Regions from separate parts of the Homo sapiens genome. Here regions 2, 3, 4, 5 and 6 are each linked to region 1. The links are contacts of gene promoters, found by promoter capture Hi-C in human tissues and cell types (Jung and others, 2019). All regions are on one chromosome and are shown on one strand. The core of a region is centred on a gene start or on the middle of the fragment in contact, and the rest is flanking DNA. Distances in the headings are between cores, read along the strand shown.

Region 1 (2,747 bases), core at 140-2,639:
CATAATTTGAATACAGGTTTGCCTGGCTCCAAAATCACATTCCTTTCTTTCTGTTTAACTCTCTCTGCCCAGGATTTTCTTCATTTGTTTAAATCACCCTCCATCTTATTTCTCTTCGGTCTACACTAAGCAATACATCCTGCAATGAATTATTCTAGTCTTATTACTTCCTAAAATCAGGAGCCATAGATTAAAAACCTTAACAAAGGAAAGGCAAGAAAAGGTTCTTGCAATATTTCCACTATTTAAGAAACTCACTCATAAAACCTGAAATACAGACGTAGTGAACTTCTGTAATCATATCTTGCTTAACGGATGCTTAGCTTTTCTACGTTTAGATCACACCATAGCTGCTCCACAAACGTGTTTTTCTTCAAGGTATTGAGAGAACTGACTCTAAAACTTTCCCAAGCACTTGAAACATGTAGGACTACGCGATTTCTTTTGTTGTTTCCATTCCTGTCCAAAACCTCTTGAAAAACAGCAGGCTGAAAAAAGCTGTGCTCTAAGGAGCTAGTGAGGAACTCTGGATGCAAACGATTAGCCCCGAAGCCAGGGAAGTTGGCCGCCTAGCCTGCTACAACACACACCTTTCATCTCCGGCGAAAGGAAAGGTTTTCAAATGCTGCGGTGGGTAGGGGACAGGGATGGAGGAAGAGGCGGCGGGCAGGAGGTGGAAGATAAGTCCCAACCCCTAGAATGAACCCCAGAGTCTCTATATCCCGTAAATGGGCAACAAAATGGGAAGCTTGGCTGCCACCAGGACAGGAAAGCCCTGCTGGACAAGAGTGGCATCTTTTACTGAAAAAGTTGTGTGGAAGTATACGCTAAGCCAGCCTCGTAGTCTCCAGCGATGCAGGTCGTGGAACAACAAAGAAAACCCACCCAAGTAGCCCTTTCTCTGCATTTAAATGAGCAAATCTGGACATTTAAACTGAAACCTCACTCCAAGCCCCCAGGAGAAAAAAACCCACCTCCCCTCGCAACCAGGTTTTCCGGCGGCCGTCGCCTGGCGGCTTCCTGGGCACCGCGATGTGGAGTCCGGGCCAGCTCCCGCCCCGCCCCTCTGCAGCCCGGGCTTACCTCTCTGCGCGCCGCCCGCCGCGCCCGCTAGACCGCAGCGCCCCGCGACCAGCTGGACCAAGAGCAGCAGGCGGAGCGCGCGGGGCCCTGACCCCCGCGCCGCCATCGCCCCGCGCCCGCGCGGGACCGCGGGCAGCCGCCTCTCGACCGCCGCGCGGGGAACGCGAACTCTTGGGGAATGGAGCACTGAGTGTGAGTCGTGAGACAAAACGAGGGCAGACGCAGCAGAGGGGCCGCTCCGCGCCACAGCTCCCGCCGGGACAGCAGCCTCAGCCTAGCAGCTTCTGGCGGGCTCGGGACGCATGTGGAAGCTCCCGGCGCCTAGCCCCGCCCCTATTTCCCTCTGGCCCCGCCCAATCCTCGCCTTGTTCCTTTTGGCCCAGTCCGGTCTATTCATAGCCCCGCCTCCGATCCCCACCAACCCTTTCCCCACCCCGCCCCGCCTCTGGTCCAACCCTGTCTGCTCCTAGCTCCTCTTTTTCCACGCCTGGCCCAGCCCCATCGCCCTGGCCCCCGCCTCCAGGCCTTCCTTTGGGCAGGTGCGACCCTGGAGCAGAGTTCCAGGAAGGCAAAGACTTGAGGCTGGCATCGCAGGCGCGTCCTTCTCTAACCACCGGATGTCCTTGGCCTAGTCACTGCACACCTTAAGATAACAGCTATTCATTGATGTCTGCTCTGTGCTCAGCACCAAAAGGGGAAGCAGAGGGACAGATTGCTCCCAGCTGATAGAAAATGTAAATAAAGTAATTCCGAGTTGTGATCAGAAAGAAACAAGCTGGAGGCTGGGGCAGAATCACAGTGGTGGGGGACTTGCTCCAGGCTGCAGCGCTCTCCATGGGCCCCGCTGCCCACTCAAGTCTTTCTCACCAGGAAGTACCAGTCGCAGCTTGACTGCCTCCTGGGGCTGTCGTGTCAGCCAAGGGGTCCCCACCAGGAGACCTGTGTTGTGGACCAGCGAGACAACCCTGGGCAAGTCACTTTCCTCTCTGGGCCTGTTTCCTCGTCTGGAAGCGAGGAACCGAGGCAGATAAACTAGAGGACTCGGGAAGGTACAGCTCTGACACTCACTCAAGCCATCCCCGGAAATGATATGCAGTCGCCTCAAACGTGGGCATCGCCCTCCGTGTTGTCATCAATTAACATTTGTAAATATTAGTGACTATCTGCTACAGACACTTAGCACCTCTGGTGGAGATTGGTGCCGACTGCTGGAAACCCGTCTCAAATCCCTCCAGACCCTATATTTCATCCTCTCTGTCCATAATTAGAAAGCTTCATTTGGCTGAAGGGATTCAGGCGAATTATCTTTAAACTTCAGTGGCAGAGGGAGCCGCTGACTCTTCACAGAACGCTTTATGGAGGTGACACCTCTAAGACTCATTGTGAGCAAAAATTTCACTCCACCCTCCAGACTAGTAAATCTGTGAAAAACTAAACCTGGTTGCAAAGAATCTAAACAGCAAAATTCAGTGAAGATGCTCTTCTTAGGTCCAAATACAGCTGGAAAAATGTAAATTACATCCAATGGAGCCAATCTGTTTAAACAGGACTTAAACAAAGGGGCCACAGAAAAGGGATGCACAAGATGTTAACCAGATTAGTAATTAATTGCACTTCTGCACAGAAATGAAAGACAGTACCTATCATCCTTTCACTGCAAATTT
Region 2 (2,747 bases), core at 77-2,576, 170 kb before region 1:
ATCCTGGGCACGCTGTACCTGTCGTGCAGTCTGAGTCATGCTGCCAGGTCAGGGTATCCAGATCCCAGCCTGGGAGTGTCAAGAGTCAAACCCACTGCAGAGGAGGGGTGATAGTCAGGGTCCCACCTCCTCTATCTGTTGGCAATCCCTGGTGATCTAGGATAAAACCTTAAGAGTCCCATACACACGGTCATCCCACAACACACTTCACAGGCCAGGCAGGGACACACAGCCCCCTTCCCTCCCTGCCAGGTACCACCGCAGCTGCTAGCGTGTGACTGAAGGCAGGGTCCCTGGCCCCCACTGAAGCACTATCGCCGACCAGCAGGCTCACGCACCTTGGCCTGTTGCTCCTAGGGGTCGCCTGTGCTATTCAGCCAAGGGGACCACAGTGCCTGCTGGCCCAGCTGAGCTCCGCCTAGCGAGCCCACCTGCCTCTCCTGCCATGGACTCTCCCTCTTCTGCTTTTCCCAGCAGGAAGGACCCAGCCTCAGCTATGAAACTTGCAGCCCCCCTCACCCCGCAACCAGCTGAGGCTCCCCTCTTAGACTTATAAGTCTATGGCCAGTGGCATCCGGCTACCTGCCCTCCCTGCCTTCCCCAGGGTCCCTTCAGAGGACCCTGGACTTTCTCACCACCAGAGGGGCCTCTGGTACTCACTCCAGCCATCCATCCCTTATAGCTTCACCATTTTGGTTCAAGCAGTGTTCCTTATCAGGCCAGGTGGCTGTTGGGTGGGGCTCCCCAAGCAAGAGGTGGCCCTGGGCCAGTGGGTTGGAAGGCAGGGTGACCAGAGAAGAGAGAAGCCCAAAGCGGCTGAGCATTGGTCTGAAGTGTGGGTGCACTGCCTGGGTGCCATGGGAGAGGCCAGTGTGTGTGAGCTGGGGAGGGCTGCCGCAGCCCCCAGGCACTACCTGTGAAGCTCTGGCTTCTCCCTCCATCTTCCTCCCCTTTCCCTTCCAGCCCCTCTTTTCCAGGAACCTTTGCTACACCCGCACCTGCGCGCTCCCCTCCCCGGCCCTCCCACAGCTGCTGCGACATGCCCGTGCTCTGCGCTTGCATCACCAGCTCTCTGCTTGCTATTCTCTCTCCTATTTTCTCTCTGCTTTTCTCCAACTGCCAACTGATTGGGTTAGGCAAGTCCATCCCATCCTGAGAGCTCCAGCCCCACTCCAACCTCTAAACAGATCCTCCTCTTCTCAGAGACCTCCCTTTCCAAGCCTGCCTGGGCGGGTGTCCTGTGACTTGACAGTGGCTCCCCAGCCCCAAAGCCAGCCCCCTTCATCTGTGACTTAGTCTGTTGTAGTGGTGAGCTGACACATCCAGGTGTGACCATTGCTGAAAACTTGTGGCCCCTCTGTGGTATGCCCCTGCCTTGTTCTATAAATAGCTATAAATACTCATATATATATAAATATAAATATATATATAAATATACATATATATAAATATATATATAAATATACATATATATATATATATATACACACACACACACCTACATATGGCCGACCACCTCGCCTCTAGCACTGGGAATCAGTCACCGTGCTGTCCTTGTGGAGTCTTGTGGCCCAACAAAAGGAAGGTCTCCCCTGACACTGCCCCTCCAAAGTGTGCCACCTCCAGTGAGCCTGCCTGTCATGCCCAGCCTGTGGACAGCCAGCCCCCGCCATCCGTCCCACCCCCCCACCGTCCCACCCCCCGCCATCCCTCCCACCCCCCACCAAGCATGGGGGTGCTGTGCAGGCAGCTGTGTGGCCTGACAGTCTCTACCAGCCCTGGTGTCCCTTGGCTGAGAATCAAACCCATTTCTGGATGATGGGGAATGTGTCCTCTGCTGGCTGTGTTCTCTGTGGAGCTGAGGGGAGGGAAAAAGCCAAGCCATTTCTAGGGTGCTGTTGGGAGCGGTGAAAAGGCCACACCCTTTCCAAGGGACACTTCCTGGAAAGCCCCTGGAGCTTAGCTGGCTCTTATCCTGTGAAGCTGGCTCTGGCCACTAGGGGGCAGGACCATGAACTCAGCCTGGAGGAGCCTGCGGGGCAGCTGACACTCTAGAGGGCCAGACAGAACAGGCCACCCTGTGCAGACAGGAGAGGGAGGCAAGGGGACGGAACCGAAGACGACTGGGGTGAATGGAAGTCAGTGGCCTTGGGTGCTCGTATCTGCCTTCCCGGCCACCGCTAGATCAGGCTTCTGAGCCTGTTGGCTGTCAGGGCCGGACTGTGCCCCATAGGCGCCATAGCAATCCCCATGCAATCTACCAGGTGTCACCAGGCAGCATACAGGTAACAGGCCTGGAAGGTCCCCAACAGCCCAGCTGGACATGCTCACTCTGGGGCTCTTCATTCAGTGGCGCAAACTCCAGGACCCAGTGAGGGAAATGGGAACCCACCAGGCTGAGCAGTATGGCTAAATCCATTTATTCCAAAATGGAAAGCAAAATAAACAGGAGTCACATCACCAAGGCAGCCAGGACCCCATCCCCTCCTCCTTCCTCTGTCCTATGCTATCAATAAATAAGTTTCCCAGCCGTAAATAATGATTAGAACCTCCTCCTCATATGCCAGCTCCAGCCTCTGGTAGGTATGATACAAGGGGTGGCCCTACCCCCCGGAATATACAAAATGTTACACAGATACTATGTGTACACTGGGGAAGGGGGGCCACCCCAGCAGCCCGAGCCCTCACCTGCTCTACAGTTAGCCCCACTGTCCCGCCTCAGCTGCCTCTCTGAATAAGATGGGAGC
Region 3 (2,747 bases), core at 104-2,603, 170 kb after region 1:
ACTCTCAATTTTCATCTGTAGAATGAGAAATGTTTTTAGTAATTAAGAAATACCCAAATATTAGTAAATACTGAAAATAGTAGTACCTTCCTAGTAGAACTGTTGAGAGGATTAAATGAAAAAAGTACATACAAGGTACTTAGCTCAGAGCCCGGCGCTTGGTAAACCCTCGCTAAATATTAATTAGCAGCTATTATTAGGGGGAAAGGAAAAGCTAGTCTGGTAGAATCACAAGCACCAGGAAGCCATCAGGGAGGTGGGGAAAAAGGGCGGTTCTTTCTGGAGTCAGGAAGGTAAAGCCATTCTTATCCGGCCTTGGAGCCTTGGAGGCAAGGTCCCCTCCTGTCAGTCGTCAATGTTGCCCACTGGTTTCCCTGGAAAGAATGAGAATCCTGGGTCATTCTGGGCAGCGGTGACAGGTCCAGCCTCCTATCTCTGCAGCTTTGTCTTCTCAGGAGCGTCACTTGCTTACAGCCACCCTCGGCTGCTTCTTCTTAAATCATCTCCACATCACAATCACAGAGGGTTGGGAGCCCGCCTGCATCTCAGGGGCTCCAGCTGTCTCCCATGGAATACGAATAGCACTGTCGGGCTGTTGGTCTTGTTGCCTTTGCAATCTGCTTTCTGCACAATGTCTAGGTTGAGCACATTTGCAGGCTCAGTGAAGCCATTATTTTTCTTGGTGACATTTTCTGGCAGCAGTCTAAATTCGTGAAGAGCTGAGGACAGCCTTTGCCTATGCCTGGAACTGGGTGGCCTACTTCCCCATTGCCATCTGTGTCTATTTGTCCCTGGACTTAGACACAGACTCATTCACACCCAGACCAAAGAATCCCAGGTCAGTGGAGCTCAGGTGTAGCTCTTGTCAAATTAAAAGGTACGTGGGATGCCCCAGGGATCCTGTTAAACTGCAGACTCAGTAGGTCTGGGGCCAGGCCTGAGAGTCTGCATTTGTAACAAACTCTCAGCGCCATTTCATCTGATGGTGCTGGTCCATGGACCAACCACACTGAGTAGCCTAGTGGTTCTCAAGCTTCATCCTGCATCAGAATGACCCTCAGGTCTTATTAAAACACAGATTGCTGGGCCTTTCCCAGTCTGATTTTGAAGGCCTAGGGTAGATTCCAATATTTTGCATTTCTAAGAAGTTCTCAGGTGATACTAATGCCGCTACTCTAGGGACTACACTTTGAGAACAATTGTTTTAGTTTCCCGACCTTTCCATTACCTTTATTATTATTCCTTGAGTTCTGTGACTTTCTTCGAGTTCTCTAGTCCTGACCACTTGCCACAGTTCAGTCCTGCTGAGTACCTCCAGTCTGTCATATCTATAACTGACAATGCCCCAACTTGGCCAATGACACCTTTGTGTTCCTTTTGGCCTCTGTCTTGAACCTGTTGCCCTGGCTTGCTTCACACTCTGCAAACTTGCCAGCCTCATTTTCTCACCCACAGCTTCTCCGGGTCCTTTCAGCCTGAGCCCTAACATGGTATCTCCAGCCTTGGTCTTTGTATCACTGCTCTGCCAACCCCAGACTTCCTGCCCTGGCTGGCCTGGGTGAGGGGTTCACTCCTGCCCTAGGCACCCCCCTCTTTTTCTGGCTCCTCTAGGGGCACCAGGCAGCTGTCAGGGCCCTGGCATGCAAGGCTGTGCCCAAGGGAAGCGGACATCATGGAGCTAATTAAACCAACGTGGACCCAAGTGCCTGGAATTCAGGAGGCTGTCCTCTCCCACCCACCCCAACAGAGCCCCGCAGACGCTGGAGTGAGTTAGTTTGACCTTCTGGATTGATGCAGTTAATGAGATGGTTGTGTAATGCTTTGTTTAACAGAACTGGTTTCTGGGCCCGGCCCAAAGCTAGGCTGGACTCTGGCTGGCTTCCATGCCCCAGCCCTGCTTGCTCCCTTGAGGCTCCCTCTGGCCAGTGCCCTCTAGGGGCCGGGGCTGATATGTTTATTGCTAACTACTCCGAACTCGTCTGCCTCCTCTGAGGAACCCGGGGACAATTCCTCTGACCTTTCCCTGCAAGCTCCATCTCTGTGAAACTTGGTCTCACAAGCTAGCCTTTCTTGCTTGGAGAATCTGTGTTTGAAGTCAGAGCAGAAAAAAACAGGCTTTTCAGGGCCCTGCTTGTGGCAAGTAAGTGACAGCTCGAGGGCCTGGTAGCCATACCTCTGTGACTAATAATCTTTGGCCTCAAAGATGCAATTTCCTTTCTCTTCCTTGCTATAGCTCCCAAAGTTCTTTCTCACCTATATGACAGCTCTTGCTTCAACTATTCTAGGTCGTCCTCCCGGAGTCTAGCACACGGGAAGGCCAAAGGCTTGGTATCAGACTGGCCTGGGTTTGAATCACAACTCCATCACTTTCTAGCTGTGTGACCCTGGGCAAGTGATTTAACCTCTCTGAGCCACAGTTGCCTCATCTGTAAAATAAGGAACACAGTCCCCATCACCTCACTCCTAGGGACAGTCCAGGGAGAAAGTGAGAGGATGTGGTGAAGCACCCAGCACAGTGTCCAGTACGCAGGGGTCTTACTGGTTACCCCCATCCAACCCCAGCACCCTCCAAGGGGCTGGGCTTCACACGGCTCAGCTCTTCAGACAATAAATGAGTGATTTGGGCCGGGCACAGTAGTTCACACCTGTAATTCCAGCAGTTTGAGGGGCCAAGGCAGGTGGATCACTTGAGGTCGGGAGTTCGAGACCAGGCTGGCCAACATGACGAAACCCCATCTCCACTAAAA
Region 4 (2,747 bases), core at 136-2,635, 150 kb before region 1:
GTGTGAGACATCACGCCCAGCTGGCTTCATTTGAGAAATCTTTCCCCAGCACTCCATATATTATGAATAATTCCTTTATTCTTGTTTTGATAGCATCTTAGTCATATCTCTATTACCTCACTTGTCACATGATAATCAGTTGCTCCCCCATCCATCTCCCTTGATTGCTCATGAGCTCCTTGAGAAGAGTCTGATTTTCAGCACTTTGAACAGTGTGACACATATATGCTTCATATGCAGAGAAGGACATGATTTCACTACAGTGTAACTATTCCCAGAATTCAATGCCTGTATTTCTAAATTGTTCTAGATACTCTGCAACAACCTGAGAATGTTATGTTTTTCCCTAAAACTTCCATCCATTACTGAGTGTCTATGGTCATAGTTAACTCAATTGCAATGTGACCTCTGGCCAAGCCCATTCCTAGTTTTTTTTTTAGGTGATTTTTAATTTTAAATTTTTATTTTGATTGTTTCCTTTTTGTTTTTTCTAATCTAGCAGTGGTTGGTAAATTTCAACATCTGTATATCCCTGTGTCTTTGCACCTGCTGGTCTCTGCTTGGAATATCTCAAGGTTTTATTCACCTGGAAAAAATTTCTACTCACCCTTAAAGAATCAGCTTAAATAGGTCGGTGTGGTGACTCATGACTGTAATCCCAGCACTTTGGGAAGCAAAGGCGGGTGGATCACCTGAGGTCACTAGTTCCAGACTAGCCTATCCAACATGTTGAAACCTTGTCTTTACTAAAAATACAAAAAATAGCCGGGCGTGGTGGCAGATGCCTGTAATCCCAGGTACTCGGGAGGCTGAGGCAGGAGAATCAGTTGAACCCAGGAGGCGGAGGTTGCAGTGAGCTGAGATTGTGCCATTGCACTCCAGCCTGGGCGACAGTGTGAGACTCCGTCTCAAAAAAACAAACAAAAAAATTCCAGAAGAAAGTTTCTGCTTGGTCTGGTCTGGGTTGGCTGGGTAGCTGGGACGCTAAAACTGCCAAGCCCTCTAGTGTCATGTGGTTGAAGCAGGGCCGGGAGATGTATTAGTCAGTTCAGGGTGCCATGCCAAAATACCACAGATGGGTGGCTTAAACTGCAAACATTTATTTGTCACGGTTCTGGAGGCTGGGAAATCCAAGACCAAAGTGCCAGCAAGGTAGGTTTCATTCTGAGGCCTCTTCTCTTGGCCTGTAGGTGGCTGCCATATTGTGCACTCATGTGACCTCTTCTTTGTATTTGTGCAGAGAGAGAGTGAGTGCACCCTCTGGTGTCTTGTCTTATAAGGACACTAATCCTACTGAATCAGGGCCCCACCCTTAGGACCTCATTCAAACTTAATGACTTCCTGAGAGGCCTCATCTGCAAATACAGCCATGCAGAGGGTTAGGGCTTCAACATATGAATTTGGAGGAGACAGAGACACTCAGTCCATGATGGGAAGAAAAACTATTCATGAAAAAAGGGGTGCAGTGGCCAGAAAAGGGGGCAGACAAAATATTCTCCCCATTTCCCCCAATACACAACACAACACACACACACACACACACACACACACACACACACAGAGCCCTGACTTTGCCCCTTCCTCACAAGGCCACTCCCCACCCATAATCATTTACCTCCCTCCTATCCTGCTCTCTGGAGCTGCCCCTTCCCCTAAGTTGTCCTGTGGCTCACTGATTGCTGCATGCAGGTAGGTGCATGTAAATGTAGCTGGGGCTGGGAACCTCCTGGACCATGTGTGTCCTGAGCCCCACTATGAGACTGGGCAGGAAGTGGGTCTCACCCATGTCTCCTGTCCTCAGGCAGAGCCTAGCCTTGGGACATGAGCTCAGAGGATGCTGCAGCTTTGTTGGATTCACCTCAGGCCCCCTTTCTCCCCATCCACTTATAAGGTTCCCAGGGCCTTGATACCTCTGTCCTTGGAAGAAAAGAATGTGATTACCCAGCTCACTCAAACCTGCTCGTGGCTTCCCGCAATAGAAGCACAAAATTTTCTAATTCAAAAGAGTCTACCAAGTGACTAGCAAAGTGAATGAGGAAAGACCTACAACAAGGCACATCATTGAGAAATCCAAAGATAGAAAATCCTAATATCTTCCAGAGAGAAAAGACAGGTCACATGTAAAGAGCCAAGATTCTGCACGATACTGACTTCTTACCAACAACACTGGGAACTAGAAAATAATAGAGCAGTATTTCCCAATGTGAGAAGTTACTTTCAAATTAGAGCATTATATCCAGCCAAACTGTTAATCAGGAGTTGGGGTAGAACAATGACATTCTAAAATATGTGAAGGTAAGAAAGCTTGGCTTCCATTCACTGCTTTTCAGGAAGCCACTGGAAGATGTACTGCAACATAATGAGACAGTGAACCAGGGAAAAAGAAGATCTGGGGCAAGGGAACAGGAGATGCACACAGAAGAGGCAGCAGGAAATTCACACAATGGTGCAGAGACATGTCAGAATGCCAGCCATGCCACAGGCTGAGAGCTGAGTCCAGTTTGGAGCATAAGGATGGAGGGCAAGGGAGAGAGGGAAGCCTCCAGGAAAATAACAGGGCTGATAGAGTAGCTCGTGTATCTTAGTTTTAGATAATTATTACCAGGCATTTCATAGATCAGTTGGAGTAACTGAAAGAAAGGTAGTTAATAGGTACAAAAACATATAAGCAAACGAAGGGAAAAAATTTGAAGCAATTATTAACTCCAGGGGGAAAAAAAGGAAGAAATGAAACAATTTCAGTGCAG
Region 5 (2,747 bases), core at 119-2,618, 140 kb after region 1:
ATGTGTTATGACTGTACCACTGCACTTCAGCCTGGGTGACAGAGCAAGACCCTATCTCTAAAAAGCACACACACACACACACACACACACATATATACACACACACACACACACACACACACACACACACAATCCATCCTGGTTCAGGCCACTATCATCTCTGCTCTGGATGATGACAGCAGCCTCCTAACTAGTCTCAGCACAACAGCCAGAGGATGCTGTTAAAGTGGAAGCCAGCTCATGTCATTCTTTGCTCAGAACTCCACACTGGCTCCCATCTTAGTCAGTGTAAAATTCAAAGTCCTCACGATGGCCTCCAGGGTCCTGATCTGACTCCTCCTCTTTGGCCTCATCTCCTACATCCTTTGCTCACTCTGCATTAGTCTCATTCCTTGCTCTTTGCTGTTCCTTTAACACCAAGCACAATCTCTTCTTTAGGCCTCTGCATTTTCAGGTGCCTTCTCCTAGATAGCCACATAGATTGCTCCTTCACTTTCACTGGGTCTCTGCTCCAATTTGCCCAGCTCGGTGAGGTCTTCCTGAACACCCAACATATATGGCAAACCCCAGCACCCCTTATACTCATTCTTTTCATTCCTCTCCGTAGCACTTATTGATACAGAATGGCTGAGCGCCCAGCTAAACTCCACCCTTAAGCCTGGAGCCATGGCCCTAAGTGAAAACAGCTGACCCCCTTTTTTTCCATGAAAATGTTGCTTGTTTGGTCTGCCCTGCTCCTCTCCCGTGCCCATAAAAAGACTTCAGCTGGCAAAGCAACACAAGCGGCTGACCGGTGGGGATGCAGGCTGCTGGGAGTTGGGGATACAAGAGGCTGAGCAGTGAGCAGAGAAGCAGCAACTGAGCGTTGGAGACTATGGATAGATGCAGCTAACTTCAGACAGTGCGGCTTCAGGGAAAGATCACCTTCTTCCCACACAATCCCCTTTCCAGCTCCCATGTTGCTGAGAGCCATCACCCAATAAAATCCTCTGCATACACTACCCTTGAACCCGTTCTTGTGACCTGATTCTTTCTGGATGCTGGACAAGAACCTGGGTGCTGAGAGGGCAGGGGCTTGGACACTGCTGCAGGGATGCACAGAGCCTGCTCTCACCAGAGAGAAGTGACTGGCCGGTTCCAGCATTCGTTCCCTCCGGTTCCTGTACTCGCTTGCACGCTCCCTCTCATGAGGAGTGGCCAGCGGTGGGCTGAGTGAAACAAGCCACTCCAGTTCCTGCCCACGAAGGGGGTCAAGGTCAAGGGAACCATCCCATCTCATTATCATGGTCTAATATGCTGCACATTTAACTCATTTGTTTGTTGTCTATTTCCTACTAGAACATAGGTTCCATGAGGCAGGGACTTGGTTGTTTTGTTCACTGCTGTATCCCCAGCCCCTAGAATTGGCACATGGTAGGTGTTCAATAAATATTTATGGGAGAAAAAGCATGAATCAAGTGATCCTGCAGGCAAGCTCAAAGAGAGACGCAACTTGTCTCTCTGAACCTGGAGTGGGAAACATCAGAGGCAAAGATACCTCTATTGATTCTGGTCATATTCACCTCTGTGACTTCCGTTAAGTGAGCGCTTAAATTTTCAAGTTAAAAAGGTTTTTCCCCATTGAGGGTGTATCTATGGTGTTGGCAGGAGGGATGGTGGAAAATTGCTCAAGCAGCAGCAAAAAGCAGAAGCCAGACAAGCTGAGGCTCCTCCAGTCCATGCGGTGGAGAGACCTAGGGAAGGTTTCTCATTCCTGGGTCAAATGTCACATAACCTAGTGCTTTTTCTCTCTTAGTTTTAAAACTGCCTTTGGAAAATTATGACAGTAAGAGAAATCTGACATAGTTGACTCCATCTTGCTTCTGACTTCCAAGCTGTTCTTGGTCATTCCTGGGTATAAGTCAAGTTAACCTTGGGAAGAATTCATAGTTTAACTTGAAAGCAAAGATGATAATAGTCCCTTCCTAAAACTAACTCCCTCCTCGCTCAGGGACTGACAACAGCCTATGTCAGACTAATGAAAAGCCATAAGAGGCTAGGTGCAGTGGCTCACATCTGTAATCCCATCACTTTGGAAGGGGGGGAGGTGGGCAGATTACTTGGGGTCAGGAGTTCAAGACTAGCCTGGCCAACATGGTGAAACCCCATCTGTACTGAAAATACAAAAATTAGCTGGGCATGGTGGCACATGCCTGTAATCCCAGCTACTCAAGTAGGTTGAGGCAGGAGAATCGCTTGAACTAGGTAGTTGGAGGTTGCAGTGAGCCGAGATTGTGCCACTGTACTACAGCCTGAGCAAAAGAGCAAGATTCTGTCTCAAAAAATAATAATAATAATAATAAATTTTTTAAAAAAGCCATTAGAATATGGGAGGGGCTTGAACTCTGCTAGAATGTAGGGATAACTTCTATAATCCCTAAAACATGAGCAGTAATGCTCAGGGGTCACGTGGCCAGAGGTCACAAGACTTGTGACTTTCCTAATTGCTCCTATAGATAACATCACTATTGTAGAACCTAAGATTAGATTTTTTTGAGATGTTTTCCAGACTGACCCTACCTGGACTCGTGACTCATGACTCAACTGGTCCTGTGGCCCCACCCAGAGGCGGGCTCTGTGCATGAGGACTGCTTTCCACACCCTTGTAATTTCATCCCCAACTAATCAGCAGTACCCATTCCCTAGCCCCCTGCCCACTAAATTGTCCATTAAAACCCTAGGCCTCTGAGCCTTCAGGGAGACTGGTT
Region 6 (2,747 bases), core at 159-2,658, 130 kb before region 1:
AGAGATGGGCCAACCCAAACCCCATAGTCCCTCTGGCCAACACTGAAGGTATTTTGTGGGTTTCAGCCCCATGGGCGATATTCTGTCAATCTAGAATGTGTCTGACCTACAGTCACAGTGAGATAGTGAAGGCCTTGAGTGCCTGCCAAGAGCTGGAGCTTTATCAGGCAGAGCAAGGTCTCTGGGAAGAAGGAGAAACACTGGTGCACCCTGCTGGTGAGGGAGCTGGCGCCTGTGGCAGGGGTCTGGGGGCTCTCTCCTTGCACATCCAGCTGGGCCTAAAAGTAGTACGTCCCATCTGACTTTTTCCAAGGAGAGTTTGACTTCCTTTCCCAGCACTGAACTTGTTTCTGCTTGACATAGTGACAAAACTGTGTGTATTTTACCTGGGGCTGGAGATCAGTCAGCATCAAAAGTAGCAATTTAAGAAGACAAGACTGGCGAAGGGAATGTAGCCCTGAACTATCCAAAGGCCAAAATACTTTTTTTGTGGCCTTCAAGGCCCCTGGTGTCTGGCTAAAAGGAAGAGCACAAAGATGTATGGCTGAAGGTCTGTGTTCTCATCCCATCTCTGCTATCAAGCTACTATGTGCAAACACTCAACCTCTCTGAACCTCAGTTTCCTCATCTGTAAATTGATGAGAATATTGCCACCCTCCCTGGGCTTATGGGAGGTTCAAATCAAGTTCAGCTCTACATAGATATTTGACACTGATTTGCAGTCTTCCTCAGCTGCCCCCTGCAAGCTCTCAGTTCCTTATCTGCTGGGGCTGGAGGTAAAAGGACCAATCAGGAGGCAGCTGAGGCTTTCCACAGAAGTGCCCCTGGGTAGCAGAATCAGAGTATAACCAAAAAAGGACCCTCAGTGATAAAGGAGAATGACAGAAAGGAGGGGAGACAAAGGAAGGGAGGTGGGCTTGAGGGTGGGGTGCAAAAGCTGTTCATTCATCTCTCATTTATTTGAACCTATCATGTGCCAAGCACCATGCTGGGCCTTGGGAACTCAGATGAACAAGACTCTCATTCATTCATTCATTCATTCATTCATTCATTCATTCATTGAACATATAGTTATTAAGGGACTTGTATGAAGCTGCCAGGTTCTGGCATAGAGAGGGGGGGTCAGGTAAGCAAATGAGCAATTGCAATCCAGGCTGGTGAGTAGACTAGGAGAGGATGTAGAGAGGGGGGCAAAGGGCACTGCAGATGGAGGAGGCCTCCTATTCTGAGGCTGCAAGGAATTCCCCAAGGCTGGAAGGGACAGTATGTGTTGTGGTTAGAGGGGAGGCTGAAAAGGCCAAGAAAGACCCTGAATGCCACCAAGAGTTTGGAACACATGTACGTAGCTACTGAGCACCTTCCCAAAGGGAAACGCCAGACTCAGATTTTAATTTGGCTACAGTGTGGCGAGTGGAATGAAACTGGGGGATGAAGCAAAGAGGAGGGTAAGAAGGAAGAGATGAGACTGTGGAGATGGTTGAGAGGACTGGGTGACTGGCCTTTAGAGGGTAGGGAGAGGGGACAGGCAGCCATGCAGCCTGTATTCACTGAATGGGAGCAGAGCAGAGTGTTGGGGAACTTACTAACCAGGCAGGCTGCTAAGCCCACCCCAGGTGCACTGAATCAGAATCTCTGGAGTGGGGCTCAGCAATGTGTATACTGCAGCTCAGTGTTCCTGGTCTTGGTGGTCGTGTAGAGGATCCCTAAGACCAGCCATGGGCTCAATGATTTGTTATAAGGATGCAAAGGACTTAGAAAAGCCATTATACCCTTGGTCATGGTTCATTACAGGGAAAAGATACAGATTAGAATCCGCAAAGGGAAAAGGGACAAAGTCTAGGAGAAACCAGGCACCAGCTTCCAGTTATGCTTTCCCAGTGGAGTTGCACAGACAGTGGTTAATTCTCCCAGCAATGATGTGTGACAGCACATGCTAAGTGTTGTCTACCTGGGAAGCCCACCCAGGCAAGCCTTAGTGTTCAAGGTTTTTCTTGGGGGGTCAGTCATGCAGGCATGCAGCTCCTGGGTGACTGACCCCAGCTACTCAGGCTTCAGTCCTTAAAGAAGTCGTATTGATACACCAAGGCCCAAAGTCTCAGGCATACAAAAACATTCTTACAAGGCAGAATATTCAGCCAGGTGTGGGCATGGTGGCTCACGCCTGTAATCCCAACACTTTGGGAGGCCGAGGCAGGTGGATCAACTGAGGTCAGGAGTTCGAGACTAGCCTGGCCAACATGGCGAAACCCCGTCTCTACTAAAAATAGAAAAAAATTAGCCAGGCCTGGTGGTGGGTGCCTGCAATCCCAGCTACTCGGGAACCTGAGACAGGAGAATCGCTTGAACCCAGGAGGCAGAGTTTGCAGTGAGCCCAGATCGTGCCGCTGCACTCCAGCCTGGGCAATGGAGTGAGAATCCACCTCAAAAAAAAAAATAAATAAATAAATAAAAGGCAGAATATTCTAAAGTTATCTCCCCAGATGTGGTCAAGGGCCAATCCTCTTTTTGGAATGTGCAGGGTTGGAGTGACCCAAGGCTGCTGAGCAAACTAACCCTTTACTGTCCAGTGGTCTATATTAGAATGGCCTGGGGAGCTTTCAGAATGCCCTATGGCCAGGCTGCACCCAGACCAATCACTCAGAGTCCCTGGAGAGTCTATCCAAGGTCAAGACCCACAGCCATAGATAGTAATTGGTACCAAAGGGGAGTGAGCTCATCCCAGAGGGAATGAGGAGAGAGTGGTCACA

The links. Contacts are between HindIII fragments. The study calls those that stand out against the background at their distance.
Region 2: a fragment that was not itself captured here is called in contact with the fragment with the promoter of CHRNA5 in region 1 in 1 of the 25 tissues and cell types used here (thymus).
Region 3: a contact is called between a fragment that was not itself captured here and the fragment with the promoter of CHRNA5 in region 1, in 6 of the 25 tissues and cell types used here (liver, lymphoblastoid cells, mesendoderm cells and 3 more).
Region 4: a fragment that was not itself captured here is called in contact with the fragment with the promoter of CHRNA5 in region 1 in 2 of the 25 tissues and cell types used here (dorsolateral prefrontal cortex and mesendoderm cells).
Region 5: a contact is called between a fragment that was not itself captured here and the fragment with the promoter of CHRNA5 in region 1, in 3 of the 25 tissues and cell types used here (adrenal gland, mesendoderm cells and thymus).
Region 6: a contact is called between a fragment that was not itself captured here and the fragment with the promoter of CHRNA5 in region 1, in 3 of the 25 tissues and cell types used here (dorsolateral prefrontal cortex, mesendoderm cells and thymus).

What each region holds. Positions count from the first base shown.
Region 1 is chr15:78,564,162-78,566,908 of GRCh38, reverse strand. It overlaps CHRNA5 (cholinergic receptor nicotinic alpha 5 subunit), which reads right to left and starts at 1,389. Exons shown (of 6, transcript NM_000745.4): 1 at 1,084-1,389. The coding sequence starts at 1,189. RefSeq lists a silencer at 1,102-1,191 and an enhancer at 2,002-2,191. The HindIII fragment of the contact is 8,456 bases long and covers 1-2,747 here.
Region 2 is chr15:78,737,569-78,740,315 of GRCh38, reverse strand. It overlaps the pseudogene DNM1P37. Among named protein-coding and RNA genes, the nearest start is that of ADAMTS7, 73 kb to the left of the region's middle. RefSeq lists an enhancer at 1-857. The HindIII fragment of the contact is 7,094 bases long and covers 1-2,747 here.
Region 3 is chr15:78,396,272-78,399,018 of GRCh38, reverse strand. No RefSeq gene overlaps it. Among named protein-coding and RNA genes, the nearest start is that of IREB2, 41 kb to the left of the region's middle. The HindIII fragment of the contact is 7,261 bases long and covers 1-2,747 here.
Region 4 is chr15:78,713,495-78,716,241 of GRCh38, reverse strand. The region is part of intron 1 of LOC105370913 (a long non-coding RNA gene); the gene reads left to right. Among named protein-coding and RNA genes, the nearest start is that of CHRNB4, 74 kb to the right of the region's middle. The HindIII fragment of the contact is 5,819 bases long and covers 1-2,747 here.
Region 5 is chr15:78,419,355-78,422,101 of GRCh38, reverse strand. No RefSeq gene overlaps it. Among named protein-coding and RNA genes, the nearest start is that of IREB2, 17 kb to the left of the region's middle. The HindIII fragment of the contact is 6,971 bases long and covers 1-2,747 here.
Region 6 is chr15:78,693,483-78,696,229 of GRCh38, reverse strand. The region is part of intron 2 of LOC105370913 (a long non-coding RNA gene); the gene reads left to right. Among named protein-coding and RNA genes, the nearest start is that of CHRNB4, 54 kb to the right of the region's middle. The HindIII fragment of the contact is 8,299 bases long and covers 1-2,747 here.